Linked DNA regions of Homo sapiens: region 1 is linked to region 2. Evidence: promoter capture Hi-C in 16 types of primary human blood cells and fetal thymus (Javierre and others, 2016). All regions are on one chromosome and are shown on one strand. The core of a region is centred on a gene start or on the middle of the fragment in contact, and the rest is flanking DNA. Distances in the headings are between cores, read along the strand shown.

The links. Contacts are between HindIII fragments. The CHiCAGO score rates a contact against its expected background, and 5 or more counts as called.
Region 1: a fragment that was not itself captured here is called in contact with the fragment with the promoter of IGF2R in region 2 in 2 of 17 cell types (naive CD4 T cells and total CD8 T cells); the score reaches 6.1 in naive CD4 T cells.

The regions. Positions count from the first base shown.
Region 1 is chr6:160,453,448-160,457,406 of GRCh38, reverse strand. No RefSeq gene overlaps it. Among named protein-coding and RNA genes, the nearest start is that of SLC22A3, 110 kb to the right of the region's middle. The HindIII fragment of the contact is 6,115 bases long and covers 1-3,959 here.
Region 2 is chr6:159,966,584-159,970,891 of GRCh38, reverse strand. IGF2R (insulin like growth factor 2 receptor) reads right to left here and starts at 1,810. Exons shown (of 48, transcript NM_000876.4): 1 at 1,497-1,810. The coding sequence starts at 1,645. RefSeq lists silencers at 1,190-1,319, 1,340-1,619, 1,630-2,249. The HindIII fragment of the contact is 4,184 bases long and covers 1-2,417 here.

The DNA of each region.
Region 1 (3,959 bases), core at 1,087-3,586, 490 kb before region 2:
TGCTGTGGTGGCTCTGGCTCTGTTGAGAAAGAATAAGAAAGGCCACTCTCTCCCTTACATGAACAATAGTCTGTCCACTCTGAGAGACTGAAATTGGGTCATGGTCCTGCCCCTGAGCCCGTCACTGATTGGCTCTGACCTGCATCAGCTGTTCCATGCTGAAGGTGGAGGCAGGACCCCATTCATACCCAGAAGGGAGCAAAAGGTAGATCCCTCACCAGAATTATGGGATGTAGGGTGAAAGGCTGCTGGGCAGCCAGAAAACAAACAGATCCTCTACAATACTTCAACTGATGAAAGCATGAAGCTAAAATCATAAGGATCCGGGTGTGAGTTCTGTCTCTCCCATATTCCATGTGACGTTGGGCAGTTATTTAATCTCTTTTAGCCTCAGCTTTCTCATCTGTACTTACATATAAGGTCATTGTGAGGATTAGGGTTATTAATCATCGCCGTCATCCCCGTCCACCACTTATCATCATCCTCCCCATCAACATCATCACCACCACCGTCATCATCATTACTACCATTACCATCACCACCATTCCACCACCATCACCATCATCACCATCACCACCGCCATCATCATCATTACTACCACTACCACCGCCATCACCACCATCACCATCACCACCATTGCCATTATCACTACCACCACCATCATCACCATCACCACCACCATCACCATTATCATTACCACAACCATCATCACCACCACCATCATCACTATTATCACTACTATCACCATCACTATCACCACTATCATCATAAATAAACATCACATAACCGGCGTGTAACCGGGCCTTGACCCCAGAGCCCACTCGCTGTGTCCTCTCTCCCACCCCCTTCTGCACATTTCTAACCACCATCCTGCACTGGCTCCCTGTCTCCTCTGGTCTCACCCACATGTCCACTGAGAAAATGATTCTCAGAACACTAACTAGACCAGGAGGAGTCACAAAACATAACTCAGATCTGTTTATCGATTTTCTATATGTTGATGACATCAGATCAATGGGTGTTCTCAGCTTCTCAGAGGGAGGTCGAAATTCTCCCCCTCTCCCCTTCATGTTTCCAGACCTTCCTTGACTTGGATATTCCAAATGCAGAGTAGGTGTTGAGGCCAAGGGGCTCTTCCGTGTCAGCCCCATCCACAATCACTGGGCTAATCTTGTGGCCCTCTCCCCAGGACCCAATCAGGGAGGGCTTCAATCCTCAAGGTCACCCGTGGCCCCCCGCCCTCAGAGGTGCCATCTCTACATTGGCCACTGGATGGCAGCACATACTCACAGACCGCGTCAATTTCCTGGCAACTAGTGGTGGGTTTACCTCCTGATCAGGATGTTTGCCTTGCTCTGAGAGCAGATCTGAGAGCAGTGATATCTAACTTAATTTTCAGCAAAATATTTTGAAAAGGGTGCTCCCTCACCCATCTACACAGTCCACGTCATGCACCCCCTGCCCGATGCTTGGTAGCCAGGAGGAGCTTCCTCCATGCAGCTCCTTCCCGGCTAGGGCTGAGCTGGGCTCTGGAGCCAGGCTCTGGGAAGAGCCTCTTCTACGCTGCTCATGTAAACTCCAGATTCAGTGTCAGTTTTCTGAACCTGAGACAATGATCTAAGTGCAGTCCAACACTTTGGGGGAAGAAAGAAAGAGTGCCTCAGCTTTTGCCTGTGTCATGCTCGCAAAGCAAAATATTTTGAGAAATTCTAATCAAAGCTGGGCTTGCAAAATTGGAAAACGATTATTTGTGAGAGCACTGAGACATCCTTGGCGTGTCCATCTGGAAAAACAGCATTCCCTCTGGCAGTTTAGCAGATGTTCTGTTTCAATTTGGCAAAGGAAATAAAGCAGTTTTTCACAAAAGAAAAACTACAACTAGGAGAATTGTCCCTAGTTGTATTTCTTCTCCCTAATTGTCAAGGAAGTGTAAATCAGAAAATGAATCAGGACAATTTCCACCTACTATGTTAGCTAATCTTTTAAAAATTGAATACTCACAAGGGTGAGGAGAATTGTTTCCAGTAACATTTTATACTGTCACACACTTTTAGAAAATAATTTGGGAGTGTTACCGCGAGATGGAAATATGTCAACATAATTATGGGAACTTAGACTTCAGAAAAGAAACGAGAATGAACTTTATGAACAAACATGTGGAAGATTGGAAGCAAGAGTGGGGCCAGTGTGCACGGGGAGGAAGCATTTGGGCAGTGACTCCGCAGACCCAGGCTCAAGCTGAACTACACAACCTCCTTACACCTCAGTTTCCTCAGCTGTAGAACAGGAATGATAAAAGTGCCTGTTTCATAGGACGGTTGTGAGGATGAAGTGAGATACACCACATTAAGAGCTTGTGCCTGAAAAGGTTAATTCTTAGTAAATGACGACTATTCTTTTTATTGCAATAAAATATACACAACATAAGAGTTAGGATTTTAATTATTTTGCAGGGTACCACTGAATGGCATTCAGTACATTCACAATGGTGTGCAACCATCACCATATTTTCAGAACATTTTCCTCATCTCAAAAGGAAACCTCATGCCAATTAAGCAGTCACTCCCCATTAAAATATTAGTTATGAAGATTGTAGCATTATTTTAAAAACTCATGATATACATTGATTGAAAAAATCAGTATATAAAATTGTGCATTATGATGTAAGTAGTAAAGAAGCATATAAAAAATCTGAAAAAGTATATAAAAAGAATAGCAATTGCATTTCTCAGACTCTCTTTACATTGTAAAAATCATTTTCATACTTTCAAAAGAAAAGCAAAAAGTACACAAACAACAACGAACGTAAAACACCATGACAAAGCCCAGATCGTTAAACCCAGATCTCAGGAACACAGAATCATATATGATGTTTACACTCTCCAAGGTCAGAGAGTCCAGCGGCATTGGGAGCTGCCTTGTGTTCTGCAGCCTCACGGACAGACAGGAGGTCCAGTGCCACTGCTCTGTTCTTCTGGTTTTCCTCCTAAACATGTTTTGGGTTCAGCAACCATTTCTTTCATCTTTTAAACACAGGTACCTTTGGGGCTGGCCTTCTCAAGGAAGCCCCAGCTTCTTGTGATTGAGAATAAAGTGTGCAATCGCTATGAGTATCTGAATGGAAGAATCAAATCCACTGAGCTCTGTGCTAGGCATTTGGCTGGAGGCACTGACAGTTGCAAGGTAAGAAAAGGTCAAGAGACCAAAGTTAGTCTTGTGCTCTCCCTTCTTGGTCTCAGCCCCTTAGACTTCAGTCCCAAAGAGGCAAATTCTAGAAGGATTTGTCAACGTTAGACCCCAGTCTAAGTGTTGTTTAGAAACTGCCTAGATCTGTCCCTGAATGCGTATTCAGATCATCTAAGGGGATGTCTTGGGGCTTGAGTTCCAGATCGGTAGCAAGGGAGTTTTAAGTGCCGTAACTACCTCAGGCCACTCACCCTCCTGGGGTGTGCTGGTGGCCAGGGACTAAAGTGGTGACTTTTCCGACAGGGAAGGAGGTAGAGGGTACAGGACAGAGACCAACTGCACATACTTTACAGTGATGCCCAGGCTAGGCCAGTCTAAAGGAAACACCAACACAGGAAGGGATGTGTGCAGGATTCACAAGGGTTTTTTTTACCCCTGGGAGAAACTAAGTGGTGTGGTTTCGCTGAATAGATTTTGCTAAGTACTTAAGCACTGCAGATGCTCCAGTAATATGCCCATAAGTTCCTTTCCAATTTCAATTACTGGGAAAATATACATATGGACAATAGATGGATGCCACAATAAAAGGCTGGCAGCCTAACCCTCACATGAATTTTTCCCTACCTCTATTTAGGGTGACAGTGGAGGGCCTCTGGTTTGCTTTGAGAAGGACAAATACATTTTACAAGGAGTCACTTCTTGGGGTCTTGGCTGTGCACGCCCCAATAAGCCTGGTGTCTATGTTCGTGTTTCAAGGTTTGTTACTTGGATTG
Region 2 (4,308 bases), core at 561-3,060:
TGCTGAAGCTGGCCTCCAACTCCTGGACTCAAGTGACCCGCCCACCTCGGCCTTCCAAAGTGCTGGATTCCGGGCATGAGCCACCGCGCCCAGGCGAGTTAATTTCTTATTTTTGGTCACAGAAGCCATTATTCCAAAATGCCTTCCTCTAAATGTTGTTCTCAGCCTGACCTCGTTTAAGCTGCCACCATTTCTCTGTATCATACTAGTTACTGGAGTAACTATGTATCTTAGGGTAGCTAACTGGTCTTTAAACTAGTGTCACAAACTCTCCCTCCATCCACCCTTCCCCTTCCAAAAAAGGGAGCATAAAAAATATGGGCCTTTCCAAAGAGTTTCTATCGTGAGATCAGCCTCACCCTCCTTAGACTAATTTCTGCATGTTCTGAACACAGGGGTGCTAATAAAACTATCTCTGATGCATGGGAAAAATAAGAACCCCCCCCATAAACCCTACCACAAACTCCAAGTTCAGCCCAAAGTAGGCTCAACTTTGTTTCACTCTGAAAAGTAACTTGTAAAAGTAACTTGTAAAAGTAACAGTAACAGGGAGAAACTGTTGTCTGTTCAAAACTTTTCATCCTGCTTCCTTTTTACCAAAGTTTAAAAAAATAAACAAAAGCTGAATTTTCCATCATCCTAAACAGTCCAGAAAAGGATGGTCAGAAAATTCCTGAAATTCGAAGTTCCCCAGGCCCTGGACTGCTAGCAGTTGCGCGAGGTGAACAGCCCTCGATGGGACTGATGGGTTATACAATCATGGTTCCCAGAGCAAGATCCACTAGAATAATCCGCCCCGGAGACAATGACATCATGTGAGCAACCAGGCAGGAAGTTGGGCTCAGAGAAGTGAAGGGTCAAGTCTTGAAAGCTCACACTGGACGACACCCCCTGCCCCCAATCTAAAGAAGACAAAAGTCACCGCCTGCTAAAAATATATATATATATATATTCTTTAAAGAGAAAATGAGCCCACGGGGGGAAATCAATCAGCAAATGAAACCACAAACACTCAACTCCAGGACCATTCCTGCGGGCTCCAACGCCCCGGTGAGCCTCTCCACACCGAGGGGCCTCACCGGTGCCCCGCTGGCGAAACTCTGATGCAAACGCGCAGCGGGAACAAAGCAAACTGGAGTTCCTGCCTCCAACTTTCCCGGACGCCCGGCCGCGCGAGGGCAGGCGCCGACCCCAAGGGCCGGGGCGACCGCTCCGCACAAAGCCACCCCCGACTCAGCGACAGCCACAAGTGGCCGGACGCGGGGCTCCAGGACCGCCACGACCGCGTGTGCCCCCGCGCCCCCCGCCTGCGCACGGGACCCGGCGGGACTCGCGGACACCACGCAGGCAACTTTCCCTCGGGAACGGGGCGGACCCCGGCGCGGAACGGAGGCGACTTGGAGACCCCAGGAGCTCCTCGAGCGCTCCCCGCCCCCCACGCCGGCCGCTCACCCCGGGCACCGCGAGCGGAGCCTGCGTCCGGGCGGGCCACCCACCTGCACAGCTCGGGGAACGGGGCGGCCTGGGCCTGCGTGGACCCCGGGGCAGCGACGAGCAGCAGCAGCTGCAGCAGGAGCAGAGAGCGCTGCGGGCGGCGGGCGGGCGCGGGCCCCAGGTGGGGGCTCCGGCCGGCGGCGGCCCCCATCGCGCCGGGCCCGGACTGCGCGGCGGGCGCGAGGCTAACGGCGCGCGACTGCTGGGGGCCGCGCCCGGGACGGGGTCGCGCCGCCAGGGCAAAGGCGGAGGTGGAGACGGAGCGGGAGCCCGAGGTGAGCGCGGCTCGACTGGGCTCGGCGACAGCGACAGCGGCAGCGGCGGCCCCGGAACCGCGTCACGTGACAGCCGCCCGGCACCGCCCCCCCACCCCCGCCCCCCGCTCACGTGACTCCCTTGTTCAGGTGACCCCCGCCCGCCCCGGCTCCTCCCAGGCCCGGGTCACGTGAGCGCAGCGCGCGGGACAGGAAGCGGCGCGGGCGGGGCGCAGGCTCCAGGTGCCTCCCGGGGCCTGAGCCTCTCGGCGGGCTGGGCGCGGCGGGGGTGCCTAGCCGGGCCTCAGTTTCCCCTCCCACCGCGCCCTGCTGGATCGTGGCGGGTGCTTCCCAGGTTAGAGCAACTGTTCCCAACCTCGATCGACCAGTAGGGGAAAATAGGGAACTTGGATCAAAGTGCCAGGGAGGTAAATGCCTTCGCACAGCCTAGTGGCAGCGGATCCGTGGGGGGTGGGAACACACTTTAACTGCCCGTGGAGTCAAATCATGGGGGTTTACAACCTTGGCCCGTCAGAGCCTCTCAGACCTTCTGTGGGAATGTTATTTCCCAAGCGTGGGCTTCCTACAGCAAGGAAGGCAGCACAAATCCAGCAAGGTGAAAGAGTGGACAAAAGTGTCGCTGTCAAGCAAGTGCCACTCAACAAAGCTTTATTAATTCACTACGTGGATGGCCATGAGCTAGCCACAATGAAAGTAGAACGATGAATCTAAAAGTCTTGAACTAAAAAAATTCACTTTCTTTTAGAGTAAATATACAAAATAATCATGACTGAAAATAGTAATCATCATCATCATAAAAGCTCATCTTTTTTAGTGCTTATTCCATACCAGACACTGCTAAGCATGTAAGCATGAATCTTTAAAAACCTATGAGATGGGAACCTACTTATAGATGAGGAATTGAGGCACAAGGATACTCAGTGACTTACTCAAAGACACTCTGGGATGTGGCAAAGCTGGAATTCAAACACATATAAATAATCATGACCCAATAATAGCTAACATTTCTTGAGCAAGTAATTATGTACGAAGTACTGAAGTGTTCGGACACTGTGATTTAGCTCATTTAATCCTAACAGTCCTGTAAGAGGGGGTGCCTTTATTGCATCCGTTTTGCAGATAAGGAAAGTGAGGAATGGAGAAATTAAATAACTAGTTAGTCTTGCAGCTAGTAAGTGAAAAAGCCCGGGTTTGAGCCCAAGCCAGTCACAGGCCTGTGACATAACCACCGTGCTATTAATATATTGCCCAAGAAAAGAAAGTGTTGTAGTGGGTCAAAGGGAGAGCTCAGGTGTAAACTGTGGACGTCGAAAAAGGGTTTGTGGTGACCGGGCGCGGTGGCTCGCGACTGTAAACCCAGCACTTTGGGAGGCCAAGGCGGGCGGATCACAAGGTCAGGAGATCGAGACCATCCTGGCTAACACAGTGAAATCCCATCTCTACTAAAAATACAAAAAATTAACCGGGCGTGGTGGCACACGCCTGTAGTCCCAGCTACTCGGGAGGCTGAGGCAGGAGAATCGCTTGAACCCAGGAGGCAGAGGTTGCAGTGAGCAGAGATCGTGCCACTGCACTCCAGCCTGGGAAACAGAGCGAGATTCCATCTCAAAAAAAAAAAAAAAGAAAAAGGGTTTGTGTTTTGCAACTCCAGTGTTATAATGGATACAGGCAAAGACCATCAGTAAATACTAAAACCATCTGGTGAAAAATTATTGTGAAGCGGAATATTCTCTTTGTCTCAAAGTATCACCTTCAAAGTATACTTCCTTAAAAAACACAAAATACCTCTTCACAATGGAAAGATCTGGTAGAACCACCTTAATCAAGTAATTAAAACTAGTATCACCAATTTTTAAAAAACTAGCATTTTCTGCTTTCTAAAGTGATGCAATAAAAAATGCTAAAGGGTAATATTTAAAAGATGGTATAATCATGACTCAGATGTAGAATGAACATGTATCAAAGGTATTCCTTAGCTCATTCATTAATGTGAGAACCGGTAACATGTCACAGCTGGTTCAAAGGAAAATCCAAGGAGAATCCAACAAATATTCAAGCAGTTAGGAATGCTGAAATAAGGTTGTCTATAGATGGAAAATTGGTCAGTAACCATAGGTCAAAAAACAGCTGCGTACGCAATAGACACAATTTGCATTTCTAAAGACAAAAATCGTGTATATTACCATCAGTAGTCTACAATTTACAGAGTTGTAAAATACCTCAAAGACAGTGGCAGACACAAGACCCCATAGAATCAGATAACCCAAAAGACTGTACTAAACAGCTAGCATTCCATTACAGTTGACCACTAATATTTTTGGTCCATTTCAAAGTCTTTCACAGTTATTCCCTACCGTACACACTATCACAAGTAGTCTTGCCAAGAAGTTCAACTTAATCTAATTGAGATAAAACAATCAAATTCAAACTGTGAAACATATGACAAGAAAACTGAACTGGACTATTGCAAAATATTAATGCGCTGAAAAAACAACTCTCCTCCAAAAAAAAAAAGAGAAAAAAAGTGGAAGTGCTACTC